5 separate regions of the Homo sapiens genome follow, and all the other regions are linked to region 2. Evidence: promoter capture Hi-C in 16 types of primary human blood cells and fetal thymus (Javierre and others, 2016). All regions are on one chromosome and are shown on one strand. Each heading gives the region's core, a stretch centred on a gene start or on the middle of the fragment in contact. The rest is flanking DNA. Distances are from core to core; before and after follow the strand shown. Region 1 has its middle 2.6 kb from the start of TEX101. Region 2 holds the start of CADM4 (cell adhesion molecule 4). Region 3 overlaps LYPD3 (LY6/PLAUR domain containing 3). Region 4 has its middle 12 kb from the start of ZNF283. Region 5 has its middle 23 kb from the start of LYPD3.

Region 1 (2,700 bases), core at 29-2,528, 230 kb after region 2:
TTGTAGCAGGATGAGCTGCAGACAAAACTCCTCAGATACTGGATTAAAGAAGGAAGAGGTTTATTTGGCCGGGAGCCTCAGCAGACTTGCGTCTTAAGAGCCGAGCTCCCTGAAAAATAAATTCTTGGCCTTTTTTTTTTTTTTTGGAGTCTCCCTCTGTTGCCCAGGCTGGAGTGCAGTGGTGCAATCTCGGCTCACTGCAAGCTCTGCCTCCCGACTTCATGCCATTCTCCTGCCTCCGCCTCCCGAGTAGCTGGGACTACAGTCACCCACCACCACACCCGGCTAATTTTTTTGTATTTTTAGTAGAGATGGGGTTTCACTGTGTTAGCCAGGATGGTCTCGATCTCCTGACCTCGTGATCCGCCCGCCCCCCAAAGTGCTGGGATTACAGGCATGAGCCACCACGCCTGGCCAATTCTTGGCCTTTTTAAAGGCTTACAACTTCGAGGGGTCCACATGAAAGGGTCGTGATAAATCGAGCAAGCGTGGGAAACGTGACTGGGGGCTACATGCATCAGGTAACAGAACAGAAAGTTTTGCAATGCTTTTTCATATAATGTCTGGAACTTACAGATAACACAAGTAGTTTAGGTCAGGGGTTGCTGTTATTATTATTACTTTTTTTAACTCCTAGGGCTGGGTGGTGGTGCCAAGGTTGACTGGCTATTTATCTTACTTCTGTTTCTTTCCAACTTTTTGCTTTCTCTCTTTCCTCCTGTCTTGTGAACTAGGCAAGGTCGGGGGAGGAGGGCAGCAGGAGTAGTAGTGGTCTCCTTCCTTAAAGTAAGGCAACGCTTTGTATACTTTCAGAATTGGTACTGATTCTGTAAGTTATAGTATAAATGAGTATTTATTTTTAATAGAGAAAATGCCACAATAAGAAAGGGATTGGTAAAGCTTCAATCCCTTTGTTATCTTTGAACTGTTATCTTTGAATGATCACATGTCAAAGGATCCAGGAAGAATGTGTGCCAGTTTTCAGCCCCCGTCTGTCCCCCGAGGGCTCGTGCTTGGGAAAGCAGTCACCTTGTTGAGTCACTCTCCAGGTGACTTGGTCGCAGAATCCCTCCATCTCACACCTAGAAGAGACCTTGGAAGCCTAAGCACCCTCCACCTCTATTCTTCACCCCATTTCTGCTTCAACAGCTCCAGGGACCTCCTCTTGCTCCGTGACATAGTTTGGATATTTGTCCCCCGCCCAAATCTCATGTTGAAATGTAATTCCCAGTGTTGGAGATGCGACCTGGTGGAAGGTGTTTGGGTTATGGGGGCAGATCCTTCATGACTTGGTGCTGTCCTTGCAATGATGAGTGAGTCCTTGCCAGATCTGGTTGTTTAAGTGTGTGGCACCTCCCCTTCTTACTCTCTCTCGCTCCCCTTCTCTGGCCTGCATCCTTTTGCCATAAGTAAAAGCTCTCTGAGGCCTCCCCAGAAGGAGATGCTGGCACCACGCTTCCTGTACAGCTGCAGAACCTTGAGCCAATCAAACCTCTTTTCTTATAAATTACTTCTAGTCTCAGGTATTTCTTTATAGCAGTGCAAGAACACCCCAATACACAGCCCCTTGAGAAAGGTGGCTTTGCCTTTTTGGTGCAAGAGAGATTGACAGATCTTCCTTAGCCTGAGCCAATTTCTGTTCCTCTCCAAGCTTCAGTGTCCTCATCTAGAAAATGAAGAGGTTAGGCTGGGTGCAGTGGCTCAAGCCCATAATCCCAGCACTTTGGGAGGCCAAGGTGGGTGGTTCACCTGAGGTCAGGAGTTTGAGACCAGCCTGACCTTCACCAACACGGTGAAACCCTGTCTCTGCTAAAAATACAAAAATTAGCCAGGCCTGGTGGCACGCGCCTGTAATCCCAGCTACTTGGGAGGCTGAGGCAGGAGAATCACTTGAACCTGGGAGGCGGAGGTTGCAGTGAGCTGAGACTGCACCATTGCACTCCAGCCTGGGCAACAAGAGCAAAACTTGGTCTTGGTCTCAAAAAAAAAGAAAAAAAAGAAAAAAAAGAAAATGAGGAGGTTAGTCTAGAGCAATGGTTGGCAAATAGTTTATGAATCCATGGAACGTTTGTAAAAAAGAAAAAAGCTCAATGGCTAATATACAGTGAAGGCATCTTTTTATATAAGCACTTGTGACACCACCATTGGTCACTGGATTATTGCAGTACGCCCTGCCCTTGCCCATGTGGCTATTTCCCACCTGGCACCAGAGCGATCTCTTAATTGCAAGCCACACCACATTACTCCTGTTTAAAACTTTCTAATGGGCCAGGCACGGTGGCTCAGGCCTGTAATCCCAGCACTTTGGGAGGCCGAGGTGGTGGATCACCTGAGATCAGGAGTTCGAGACCAGCCTGGCCAACATGGTGAAACCCTGTCTCCACTAAAAATGAAAAAATTAGCTGGGCGTGGTGGTGCGCCCCTGTAATCCCAGCTACTCTGGATGCTGCAGCGAGAGAATCATTTGAACCTGGGAGGTGGAGGCTGCAGTGAGTCAAGATTGTGCTACTGCACTGCAGCCTGGGTGACAGAGCAAGACTCTGTTTCAAAAAAACCAAAACCTTCCAGTGGATTCTCATTTTACCTCAAGTAAGATTCTAGGCTGGGTGCCATGGCTCATGCCTGTAATCCCAACACTTTGGGAGGCTGAGGTGGGAGGATCGCTGGAGCCCAGGAGGTGGAGGTTGCAGTTGCAGTGAG
Region 2 (2,700 bases), core at 124-2,623:
GCCAGACAGATGGATCACCTGAGGTAAGGAGTTCAAGACCAGCCTGGCCAGCATGGCAAAACTCCGTCTCTACTAAAAATATAAAAATTAGCTAGGCATGGTGGCGGGCGCCTGTAATCTCAGCTACTCGGGAGGCTGAGGCAGGAGAATCACTGGAACCTGGGAGGCAGAGGTTGCAGTGAGTCGAGATCGTGCCACTGCACTCCAGCCTGGGCAACAGAGCGAGACTCCGTCTGGGCGGGGAGGGGGGAGGGGGGAAGGAAAGATGTTCATAATTGGCACTTCTGGACCTCAGTTTGCCTGACAAATGGGCATGAGAGAGGTCGAGGCCTTCTTTCCATGGTTTCTCACTCTTTCTGGGTCCCATAGGTAATGATCCCGCATCAGGTCTACAGGGTGTCACAGAAGTGGGCTCAGGGAAACCCACTCCCAGGAGGGAGAAGGGACCTAAGTCTGGAGGGGTGAGTCACCCTCAAAGATGGGGAGAGAGGAAGGGCAGAGGCAAATACATGCAGAGAGAGGGAGAGAGGCTGGGGCAGGGAGACAGCAGGGAGGAGAGGGGACGCCAGGGCTTGGAAGGTGTTCACAGGAGCCTCTCCCTCCTGGGACCCAGGATTCAGGCTTCCTTCCAGTTAGTTCACTTTCAGGGGGCCCCTCCCGGAGAATGACGCGGAAACACGGGGTTTTCAGGTCAGGACAGGAGAGAGGGAGGGAGGGAACTGACCCCACCCCACTCCTGAGCCCCAGCCTCGCCCTGCCCTGGGAGATCCTTGACCTGCCTCGACCTCCGGACCCTCCGGACCTCCAGCTGCAGCCTCCCCTGTCCCGGTGGCTCAGCTCACAGCCTCTCGCTAGACTCCAGACACCCACCTGCCCGCAGCACGCCTCTCACACTCACCTTTCCCACGTCGCACTCCCTCCCTTACGCTCCCCCGTCACGCTGGCCACGCTCTCCCTTCGCACACACCGCACCCCACGACGCCCGCGCCCCCACCCTCGCACAGCCTCCAGCAACACCCTGCCACCCTCCCCTCCGCGCAGCGCAAGCACCCTGCATGCCAGCAACTCCGCACCCTCGCGCGCAGCACCTGGGCCCGCACGCAGCACCCTCACCCAACACCCTCCATTTCCCGCGCTCACCGAGATCCCCCACCTGCTCCCACGCCGCTGTCGCCCTCCCGCGCACCCCTTCCCGCCCTCCTCACCCCTCTCCTCTCCAGCTTTCGCACCCCGCACCGTTCCCCCACCGTGCCGTCCCCCCGATTGTCTCCGGGCCTCTCCTCCGTCTCCCCCTCCCCTCCCCGGCCCCGCCCCGGCCTCGGCGCCCCGCCCCCGGGCGGGCAGGGGGCGGGGCGCGGGGGGCGGGGCGGGCGGCGCGGGCGGTGCAGGTGCCGGGCCGGGAGCGAGCGGCGGCGGCGGCGGCGGCGGCACCATGGGCCGGGCCCGGCGCTTCCAGTGGCCGCTGCTGCTGCTGTGGGCGGCCGCGGCGGGGCCAGGTAGGGTCGGGGGCCGGGGTCGGCCGGCCGGGCTGGGGCGGGGGGCGCGCTGTGGTGACAGCCCGGCAGCCTCGGGGCCGCAGAGGCCGAACAATGCGCGCGGGGCCGGGCCGGGCCCCCTCCCCGGGACAAAGCGCAGCGCGGGCCGGGAGCCGGGAGCGACGAGCGGGGGAGGGGGCGCGGGGCCCGGCCGCCGTGCCGCAGCCCCCCCACCCGCGCAGGCTGGATCCCGGCGGGGACAAAGGGCCCGAGACCCCCCTACACACACAAGTCCGCCCTCCCCAGGCCGGTCCCGCTGTCCTTCTGTCCAGTCTCTGCGTCCCTCTGTCCGCCCGTCTCTGAACCCCCCCGTCTGGCTCCTCGTCCCCCTACCCTTGTCCTCTATCCCTCAGTCTCGAAGTCCTGTCCCTCCTTCTGTCTGTCTCCCTCTCTTCTTGCCTCGGTGTTCCTCATCTATTCTGTCTTTGTCCCCTACCTCTGTCCCCTGGTCTCTGTCCCCTTTTCCTGGGTCACTCTGTCCCCTCCATCATCCTGTCTATTCTCTTTCCCCCGGATTTCTGCCCTCCCTCTCTGCCCCTATTCTTGGTCCCTGTCTCTGTCTCGCTGTCACCCTTGTTTTTCTGTCCCTTTTTCTCTGTCCCCTATCTGCCCCATCCCCTTGTCTCTGTCCCCTGTCTTTCTGTCACTCGTTTCTCTAACCCTTTCTGTCACCTGTCTCTTTCCCCCTTCTCTGTCCCACTATCTCCATCCCTGTCTTTCTGCTGTGCCTCCTCTCTCTACGCTTACAGCCTCCATCCCGGGATCTCCCATTCCCATCCTACCTTCCTCCCTCTCTCTATCCCTCTGTGCCCCTGAAGAGGAATTCAGTCAGGCAGGGCATTCTAAAGAGCCCTGGAGGGGAACATCTGTGTGCATGTGTGTGGGGAAGTGAGAATGGGGGACCTTGGCGTGTAGGCACACACGTGGATTCAGCGAATGCCTCTCCAAACCCTGCTCACCCATTCACACACCCAGGCTTGACTCACAGAGAAGCCCCTGTCCAGGACATCCAGGGAGCCATCCACATACCCTCATCACACACTGTGAGAAGCTGGAGACCCCCGAGGTTGGGTGACCCTGAGAATGGGGACAAGGTCAGGAAATGTCACCCACACACACTCTCACACTGTGTAAGTCTTGAACCTGCCACGGGTCACCCCTCCCT
Region 3 (2,700 bases), core at 78-2,577, 180 kb after region 2:
TGGAGTGCTACAGCTGTGTGGGCCTGAGCCGGGAGGCGTGCCAGGGTACATCGCCGCCGGTCGTGAGCTGCTACAACGCCAGCGATCATGTCTACAAGGGCTGCTTCGACGGCAACGTCACCTTGACGGCAGGTGAGGGAGCCCCGGAGCACGGGACCTACGGGAGTTGTGGTAGCCCTTCTGAAGCACCCTGGGCGGTAGGGAGCCCTTTACCCAAAGCGTTTCCTTAACCTGCGACGCATTCTGGGAATCGTGGGGCCTAGGTGCTTGTATCGTAGGGCATCATGGAAAATGCAGTCCCTTCCCCCAACATATTAATAGTGTGGGGATAGTGATGCTTTGTCCCAGAGTGTTTTGGAGGGAAATGCATTTCCATAGAGGGCTGCCAGGTACTTAAGAGGTATTTAAGCCTCTAAGCTTCTGCCCAGGCACTGCGGGGAATCTCTAGTTCTTAGCCCTTAAAACTCAAGGGGTCCCCCGCCTGTCCCAGACTATTGAGAAATGTAACCATGGAAAATGAAGTTCTTCAAATCCCATCCCCTGCCAGTTATGCTATGGAAGATGTAGTTCTTTTTTATTTTATTATTACTATTTTTTTTTAAAGACAGCATCTTGCTCTATCGCCTAGCCTGGAGTGTAGTGGCGCAATCATAGCTCACTGCAGCCTCTACCTCTTGGGCTCAAGCAGTCCTCCCGCCTCAGCCTCCCAAGTAGCTGGGACTACAGGGTGCACCGCCACGACTGGTTCCTTTTATTTTTGGTAACAGTGGGGTCTTGCCATGTTACCCAGGCTGGTATTGAACTCTTGGGCTAAGAGATCCCCCTGCCTAGGTCTCCCAGAGTGCTGGGATTACAGCCGTGAACCACTGAGCCTGGTGTGGAGATGTAACTCTGACTCTAAGAGTAAATTCTGATGGGGAGGTAAAAGCCAGGGTGAAGGCTAAGGGGATAATGGTGAGAGGGTTGTAGAGGAAGTTTGTTCTGCACTGTGGTCTTGTGAGAGGTCTTGTATCTCAGTCTAAGCCTTTGTTTTAAACCCTACTTTTGGTTCAGCCTACACACATTTCCATTCAAAGCACAATGGAAAATGTTAATCCACCATGTGCCAAAGACAGTGAGTCTGTCTGTTTCTCATAGTAGGACCTGAGTTGAGATTTTGGGATTAATGGATGCAGAGACTTTCTGTCTCATTTTGGGGGTTCTCTGTTCTTTTTTTTTTTTGCAAGACAGAGTCTCACTCTGTTGCCCAGTGATCCACCTGCCTCGGCTTCCCAAAGTGCTGGGATTACAGGCGTGAGCCACCACGCCCGGTCAGGTTCTCTGTTCTTGTCTGATGCCTCTAAGTTTTGTTCTGGCCATGTCAACCTCTCTCCCTCCAGCCACTGACCTATCTGTGTCTCCTTCCTGCAGCTAATGTGACTGTGTCCTTGCCTGTCCGGGGCTGTGTCCAGGATGAATTCTGCACTCGGGATGGAGTAACAGGCCCAGGGTTCACGCTCAGTGGCTCCTGTTGCCAGGGGTCCCGCTGTAACTCTGACCTCCGCAACAAGACCTACTTCTCCCCTCGAATCCCACCCCTTGTCCGGCTGCCCCCTCCAGAGCCCACGACTGTGGCCTCAACCACATCTGTCACCACTTCTACCTCGGCCCCAGTGAGACCCACATCCACCACCAAACCCATGCCAGCGCCAACCAGTCAGACTCCGAGACAGGGAGTAGAACACGAGGCCTCCCGGGATGAGGAGCCCAGGTTGACTGGAGGCGCCGCTGGCCACCAGGACCGCAGCAATTCAGGGCAGTATCCTGCAAAAGGGGGGCCCCAGCAGCCCCATAATAAAGGCTGTGTGGCTCCCACAGCTGGATTGGCAGCCCTTCTGTTGGCCGTGGCTGCTGGTGTCCTACTGTGAGCTTCTCCACCTGGAAATTTCCCTCTCACCTACTTCTCTGGCCCTGGGTACCCCTCTTCTCATCACTTCCTGTTCCCACCACTGGACTGGGCTGGCCCAGCCCCTGTTTTTCCAACATTCCCCAGTATCCCCAGCTTCTGCTGCGCTGGTTTGCGGCTTTGGGAAATAAAATACCGTTGTATATATTCTGCCAGGGGTGTTCTAGCTTTTTGAGGACAGCTCCTGTATCCTTCTCATCCTTGTCTCTCCGCTTGTCCTCTTGTGATGTTAGGACAGAGTGAGAGAAGTCAGCTGTCACGGGGAAGGTGAGAGAGAGGATGCTAAGCTTCCTACTCACTTTCTCCTAGCCAGCCTGGACTTTGGAGCGTGGGGTGGGTGGGACAATGGCTCCCCACTCTAAGCACTGCCTCCCCTACTCCCCGCATCTTTGGGGAATCGGTTCCCCATATGTCTTCCTTACTAGACTGTGAGCTCCTCGAGGGCAGGGACCGTGCCTTATGTCTGTGTGTGATCAGTTTCTGGCACATAAATGCCTCAATAAAGATTTAATTACTTTGTATAGTGCTTTAAAGGAGTCACTTCCACCTTGTTTCTCGCAATAACCGCTCTAGCTGAGCTAGGGTGGGCATCATAAAGCCTTTAACGGGAGAGATATGGGACCTAGAGCCGCAGTCCTGGGGGAAGTCACGGTTGAACTTTAATCTCCTGGGTCTATCCTGCATGTGGGTGGTCCCACTGGTGAGGGGGAGACCGGGCGAAACCATTAAGCAGCATGGAGGGGCGAATGGGGCTT
Region 4 (2,700 bases), core at 103-2,602, 180 kb before region 2:
TCAGAAAGCCCCCAGAATTGTGAGAAATAATATTCGTAATTTCAAGCCTCTGAGTTTTGGGGTTACTGATTGTTTTCGTCTGTTTTCATGCTGCTGATAAAGACATACCCAAGACTGGGTAACTGATAAAGAAAAACAGGTTTAATGGACTCATAGTTACACATGCCTGGGGAGGCCTCACAATCATAGCAGAAGAGCAAAAGAGAACAAAGAGACATCTTACATGGCAGCCAGCAAAGAGAATGAGAGCCAAGCAAAAAGGGTTTCCCCTTATAAAACCATCAGCTCTGATAATACTTATTCACTATCATGAGAACGGTATGGGGGAAACCACCCCCATGATTCAGTTATCTCTCACCGGGTTCCTCCCACAACATGTGGGAATTATGGGAGCTACAATTCAAGATGAGATTTGGGTGGGGACACAGCCAAACCGTATCACTTATTATGTGGCCAAAGCTAATTCATAGTGACTACTTTAAATGTAAACAAATAGCAGCTCCAATTTCAGCTGCTATGTCAGATGTGACATCTTTACTGGAGTTGACCAACCTAGTTTTTGGTCCTTAGTATGTGCTTAATGATCTGACAAATGTATTTTACTTGATCTCTGACATTTAGGAGAATTAAAAGCCATTCATGTGTGCATGGTAAGGACTGCAGCACTGTCTTGCCCCAGGTTCCTGATAACCCTCCTAATCTCCGTCATATTGTAGTCCACAGAGGCCTTGATCATCTTTACATTCTGAAGAACATAGCACTGGTTCATTCCACCAATAAAATCATGCTAATTTGACCTGGTGATCAGGAAGTGGCAATCACTGTAGAAGCCATAGTAATGCAAATGAGTGACAGAAAGAGGGAGATAAACCTCATGAATGTTCACTAACTTACCACATCAGTGAAGATTTTAGAAGTCCAATCATCTGGGACATGCCATAGTATCTCCCTTAAGGTAAAGAATAAGTTATTACAACTCACACTTCCTAAACTGATAAACAGGCACATAATTTGGTAGGGCTCTTTGACATTTGAAAGTGATAGATACATGATAGGTAGATAGATAGATAGATAGATAGATAGATAGATAGATAGATAGATAGAGTGGGGCGTGGTGGCTCACACCTGGAATCCCAGCAGTTTGGGAGGCCAAGGCGGGTGAATCGCTTGAGGTTAGGAGTTCGAGACCAGCCTGGCCAACATGGTGAAACTCCATCTCTACTAAAAATACAAAAATTAGGCATGGTGGTGCACACCTGTAGTCCCAGCTACTCAGGAGGCTGAGGCAGGGGAATCGCTTGAAGTCGGGAAGCAGAGGTTGCAGTGAGCTGAGATCGCGCCACTGCACTCCAGCCAGGGTGACAAAGTGAAACTCCGTCTCAAAAATAAAATAAAATAAAATAAAAATAATAGATGGGTATATATAGATGTGTGTTTATATATAACATATATGATTTATATGATACATATATAAATCACACTTCAGAATAGTGTTCTTTTTTTCTCTTTTTTTAATAGTTCTAGGTGTCTTTTATAGCTGGTTTTTGGTTTTGTTTTTGTTTTAGACAGAGTCTTGCTCTATTGCCCAGGCTGGAGTGCAGTGGCATGATCACAGCTCACTGCAGCCTTGACCTCCCTGGCTCAAGTAGATCCTCCCACCTCAGCCTCCCGAGTAACTGGGACTACAGGCACATGCCACCGTGCACAGCTAGTTTTTAAATTTTTTGTGGAGACGGGGTCTCCGTGTGTTGCCCATGCTGGTCTCAAACTCCTTTTTCTTTCTTTCTTTTTTTTTTTAGAAATAGGTTCTCACTATATTGCCCAGGCTGGCCTCAAACTCCTGGCCTCAAACAATCCCCCCACTTTCGGCCTCCCAAAGTGCTGAGATTACAGGCGTGACCCATCATGACTGGCCTGGAATTTTGTTCTGACTCATTTTTCAGATAAACTTGAAGGCTGCTGAGTTTCAAAGCAGGTGAGAGCTCTACAGCAGGTAAAGCCTGCGATGCAATCTCCCTGTCCCTGAGCCACATGAATCAGCAACTTTGATGGTGTCACCTCTATCCATAATGGTTGAAGCTGTTATGTGGAGTCTCTGGCAAGATACAAAAGCAAAATTACAGCCCGTAAGGTTCTGAAGTAAGTCCATTTATTATGCAGCATATAAGTGCTTTCAATTTGAAAACCAGCTGCTGAGTACTAATAGAGTCTGTGATTTTGACCATGGGACATCAAGTATCTATATGACTAAAACTACCTGTCATGAGTTGGGTATCTAACCCACTAAGTCATAGTGCGATTTGGGCACAGTATTAATTCATTGTAAGAGATCTAGATGGCACAAAAGAGTTACACACACAGACAGCTCAGACTCTCATGTCACTGACCTTGGTTGCAGCTATGTTGTTCCTTTAATTCACATTCATGACATCATATGAAGATTTTCCTGTAGAATATTAAGGAAGAAAAGGTCTGGCTCACAGATGGATCAGTGTGACTGATGTATTTTGGAAGCTGAACCTAAATTATCATATTACGGGACCACTACTCAGAGGTGGGTCCTACAGGCAGTGGTGAAGGTAAATCCTGGTGTACAGAGCTGTGATTGGAGATCTTCACTTCATTTGTTTGTTTGTTTGTTTTAGAGACAGGTCTTTCTCTGTTACCCAGGCTGGAGTGCAGTGGCAGGATCATAGCACA
Region 5 (2,700 bases), core at 42-2,541, 200 kb after region 2:
AGGCTGTGTCATGTGCGTGCATTCTCAACCTTGGTCTCCTAATTAACTTTCTGAATTAACTGAGACCTGTCTCAGATTTTCGGGGTTCACAGAGCAATTTATAAATCTTAACCCTGGTGATATGGTTTGGCTCTGTGTCCCCCCAAAACCTCATCTCAAATTGTAATCCCCACATGTGGAGGGAGGGACCTGGTGGGAGGTGATTCGATCTTGGGGGTGGTTCCCCCATGCAGTTCTCATGAGATCTGATGGTTTATAAGTGGCCGTTTCCCCTGCACTGTCTCTCCTGCCACCTTGTGAAGAAGGTGCTTGCTTCCCCTTCCCCTTCCGCCATGAGTGTAAGTTTCCTGAGGCTTCCTCAGCAATGTGGAACTGCAGGTCAATTAAACCTCTTTTGTTTATAAATTACCCAGTCTCAGGTAGTATCTTTTTTTTTGAGACAGAGTTTCCCTCTTGTTGCCCAGGCTGGAGTGCAGTAGTGCGATCTCGGCTCACAACCTCTGTCTCCTGGATTCAAGTGATTCTCCTGCCTCAGCCTCCTGAGTAGCTGATTACAGGTGCCTGCCACCATGCCTGACTTTTTTTTTTTTTTTGTATTTTTAGTAGAGACGGGTTTTCATCATGTTAGCCAGGCTGGTCTTGAACTCCTGACATCGGGTGATCTACCCACCTCAGCCTCCCAAAGAGTAGGGATTACAGGCATGAGCCACCTTGTCTGGCCAGTATCTTTATAGCAGGTAGTATCTTTATAGCAGTGTGAGAATGGACTAATACACCCTTTAATCTTTTCCTCACTTCCTTCAACACTAATGATTTTTGTGAACATTTATCTACTAACATATATTTAACATTATCTTTTTAAAAATTTTTTTGTGAGAGGGGGTCTTGCTCTGTCACCCAGCCTGGGGTGCAGTGGTGTGATCGCAGCTCATGGCAGCCTTGACCTCCTAGGCTTAGGCGATCCTTCTGCCTTAGTTTTCCAAGTAGCTGGGACCACAAGTGTGCACCACCATGCCTAGCTAATTTTTAGATTTTTTTTTTTTTTTTTTGAGACAGAGTCTCGCTCTGTCACCAGGCTGGAGTGCAGTGGTGCCATCTTGGCTCACTGCAACCTCTGCCTCCCAGGTTCAAACAATTCTCTTGCCTCAGCCTCCTGAGTAGCTGGGATTACAGGTGTATGCCACCATGCCTGGCTAATTTTTATATTCGTAGTAGAGATGGGGTTTCATTATATGTTGACCAGGCTGGTCTCAAATTCCTGACCTCAGGTGATCCACCTGCCTCAGCCTCCCAAAGTCCTGGAATTACAGGCGTGAGCCACCACACTCGGCCTTTTTAAATCACGTAAATAATACACAGACTTAATCCTGCTATAGAAATTCAAATGTAGAGTCAACCGTGAAAGTTTCCCTTGTCAAGATTCCCTGGCATCTCCTCTTCCATTCTACTTAGGACCTTGGAATGGGGAGATGCTGCATTTTGGAGGTAAAAATTCCAATAGTAAAGTGAAAGCTAGCATTTACTAAGCAGTCCCCATGACCCAGGCACATATGAACTTTTGAAGGTTATCAGAATCAAAATGGAGTCACTCATGTTAAAAAAAAGAAAAAGAAAAAAAAGCTCCGACCAACAGAGTGAAGGAAAGCCATGGAGAGAGGGTTCTCATACTTGTATGACTGATCACAAAAACTATCACAAAAAAACTGCAAAAAACACAATCTCACACAAAGACCATTGCAAACTTACACAGAAAAATACTTCTGCAAGGACGTTTGCCCAGCAACTGCCTGTCCAACCCCAGACTGGCATCATCTTTGTGATTCATTTTTCTAGCCAAAGATGATTATTTCAAAACCATTATGTAATTCTCCTCATTTTTTTTCTTTAAAAACCTTTGTCTTCTTTGACCTCCTTGAATATGTATAACACTCCTATTCCCATTGCAATTCTCTGTTCTTGAATAAACTTTTTTTTTTTTTTTGAGATGTAGTTTCACTCTTTCGCCCATGCTGGAGTGCAGTGGCATGAACTTGGCTCACTGCAACCTCCACCCCCCGGGTTCAACTGATTCTCCTGCCTTGGCCTCCCTAGCAGCTGGGATTACATGCACCTGCCATGATGCCTGGCTAATTTTTGTATTTTTAGTAGAGATGAGGCTTTGCCATGTTGGTCAGGTTCGTCTCGAACTCCTGACCTCAAGTGATCCACCCGCCTCGGCCTCCCAAAGTGCTAGGATTACAGACGTGAGCCACCTCGCCCAACCAATTTTTGTTTCTTTTAGAGAGCCTCTCGCTGTTTGTTATCTAGGTTGACAACTAATTTAATCACAATAAAATCCACACTCCAAGCTAGGAGTGGCCTGTGCCTGTAGTCTCAGCTACGTGGGAGGCTAAGACAGGAGAATAGCTTGAGCCCAGGAGGTTGAGGCTGCAGTGAGCCATGATTGTGCCACTATACTCCAGCCTGGGCGATAGAGCAAGACCCTGCCTTAAAAAAAAAAATGGCTGGACACGGTGGCTCACGCCTGTAATCTCAGCACTTTGGGAGGCTGAGGTGGGTGGAGTACTTGCGTTCAGGAGTTCGAGACCAGCCTGGGCAATATGGCAAAACCCTGTCTCTACTAAAAATACAAAAAATTAGCCGGGCATGGTGGTGCATGCCTGTAATCCCAGCTACTCTGGAGGCTGAGGCAGGAGAATC

The links. Contacts are between HindIII fragments. The CHiCAGO score rates a contact against its expected background, and 5 or more counts as called.
Region 1: a contact is called between a fragment that was not itself captured here and the fragment with the promoter of CADM4 in region 2, in 1 of 17 cell types (total CD8 T cells). The highest score is 5.0, in total CD8 T cells.
Region 3: a fragment that was not itself captured here is called in contact with the fragment with the promoter of CADM4 in region 2 in 3 of 17 cell types (fetal thymus, activated CD4 T cells and naive B cells); the score reaches 7.3 in fetal thymus.
Region 4: a fragment that was not itself captured here is called in contact with the fragment with the promoter of CADM4 in region 2 in 1 of 17 cell types (M1 macrophages); the score reaches 5.2 in M1 macrophages.
Region 5: a fragment that was not itself captured here is called in contact with the fragment with the promoter of CADM4 in region 2 in 11 of 17 cell types (total B cells, activated CD4 T cells, non-activated CD4 T cells and 8 more); the score reaches 9.6 in total B cells.

Annotation. Positions count from the first base shown.
Region 1 is chr19:43,410,942-43,413,641 of GRCh38, reverse strand. It overlaps a transcript of TEX101 not described here. Among named protein-coding and RNA genes, the nearest start is that of TEX101, 2.6 kb to the left of the region's middle. RefSeq lists a silencer at 365-551. The HindIII fragment of the contact is 751 bases long and covers 903-1,653 here.
Region 2 is chr19:43,638,523-43,641,222 of GRCh38, reverse strand. It overlaps CADM4 (cell adhesion molecule 4), which reads left to right and starts at 1,373. Exons shown (of 9, transcript NM_145296.2): 1 at 1,373-1,496. The coding sequence starts at 1,433. RefSeq lists a silencer at 1,350-1,489. The HindIII fragment of the contact is 9,580 bases long and covers 1-2,700 here.
Region 3 is chr19:43,460,558-43,463,257 of GRCh38, reverse strand. LYPD3 (LY6/PLAUR domain containing 3) reads left to right here. Exons shown (of 5, transcript NM_014400.3): 4 at 1-132; 5 at 1,411-2,471. The coding sequence ends at 1,907. Among named protein-coding and RNA genes, the nearest start is that of LYPD3, 3.7 kb to the left of the region's middle. RefSeq lists enhancers at 1-31, 62-121. The HindIII fragment of the contact is 1,815 bases long and covers 420-2,234 here.
Region 4 is chr19:43,814,437-43,817,136 of GRCh38, reverse strand. It overlaps a transcript of LYPD5 not described here. Among named protein-coding and RNA genes, the nearest start is that of ZNF283, 12 kb to the left of the region's middle. The HindIII fragment of the contact is 4,808 bases long and covers 1-2,700 here.
Region 5 is chr19:43,441,027-43,443,726 of GRCh38, reverse strand. No RefSeq gene overlaps it. Among named protein-coding and RNA genes, the nearest start is that of LYPD3, 23 kb to the left of the region's middle. The HindIII fragment of the contact is 6,258 bases long and covers 1-2,700 here.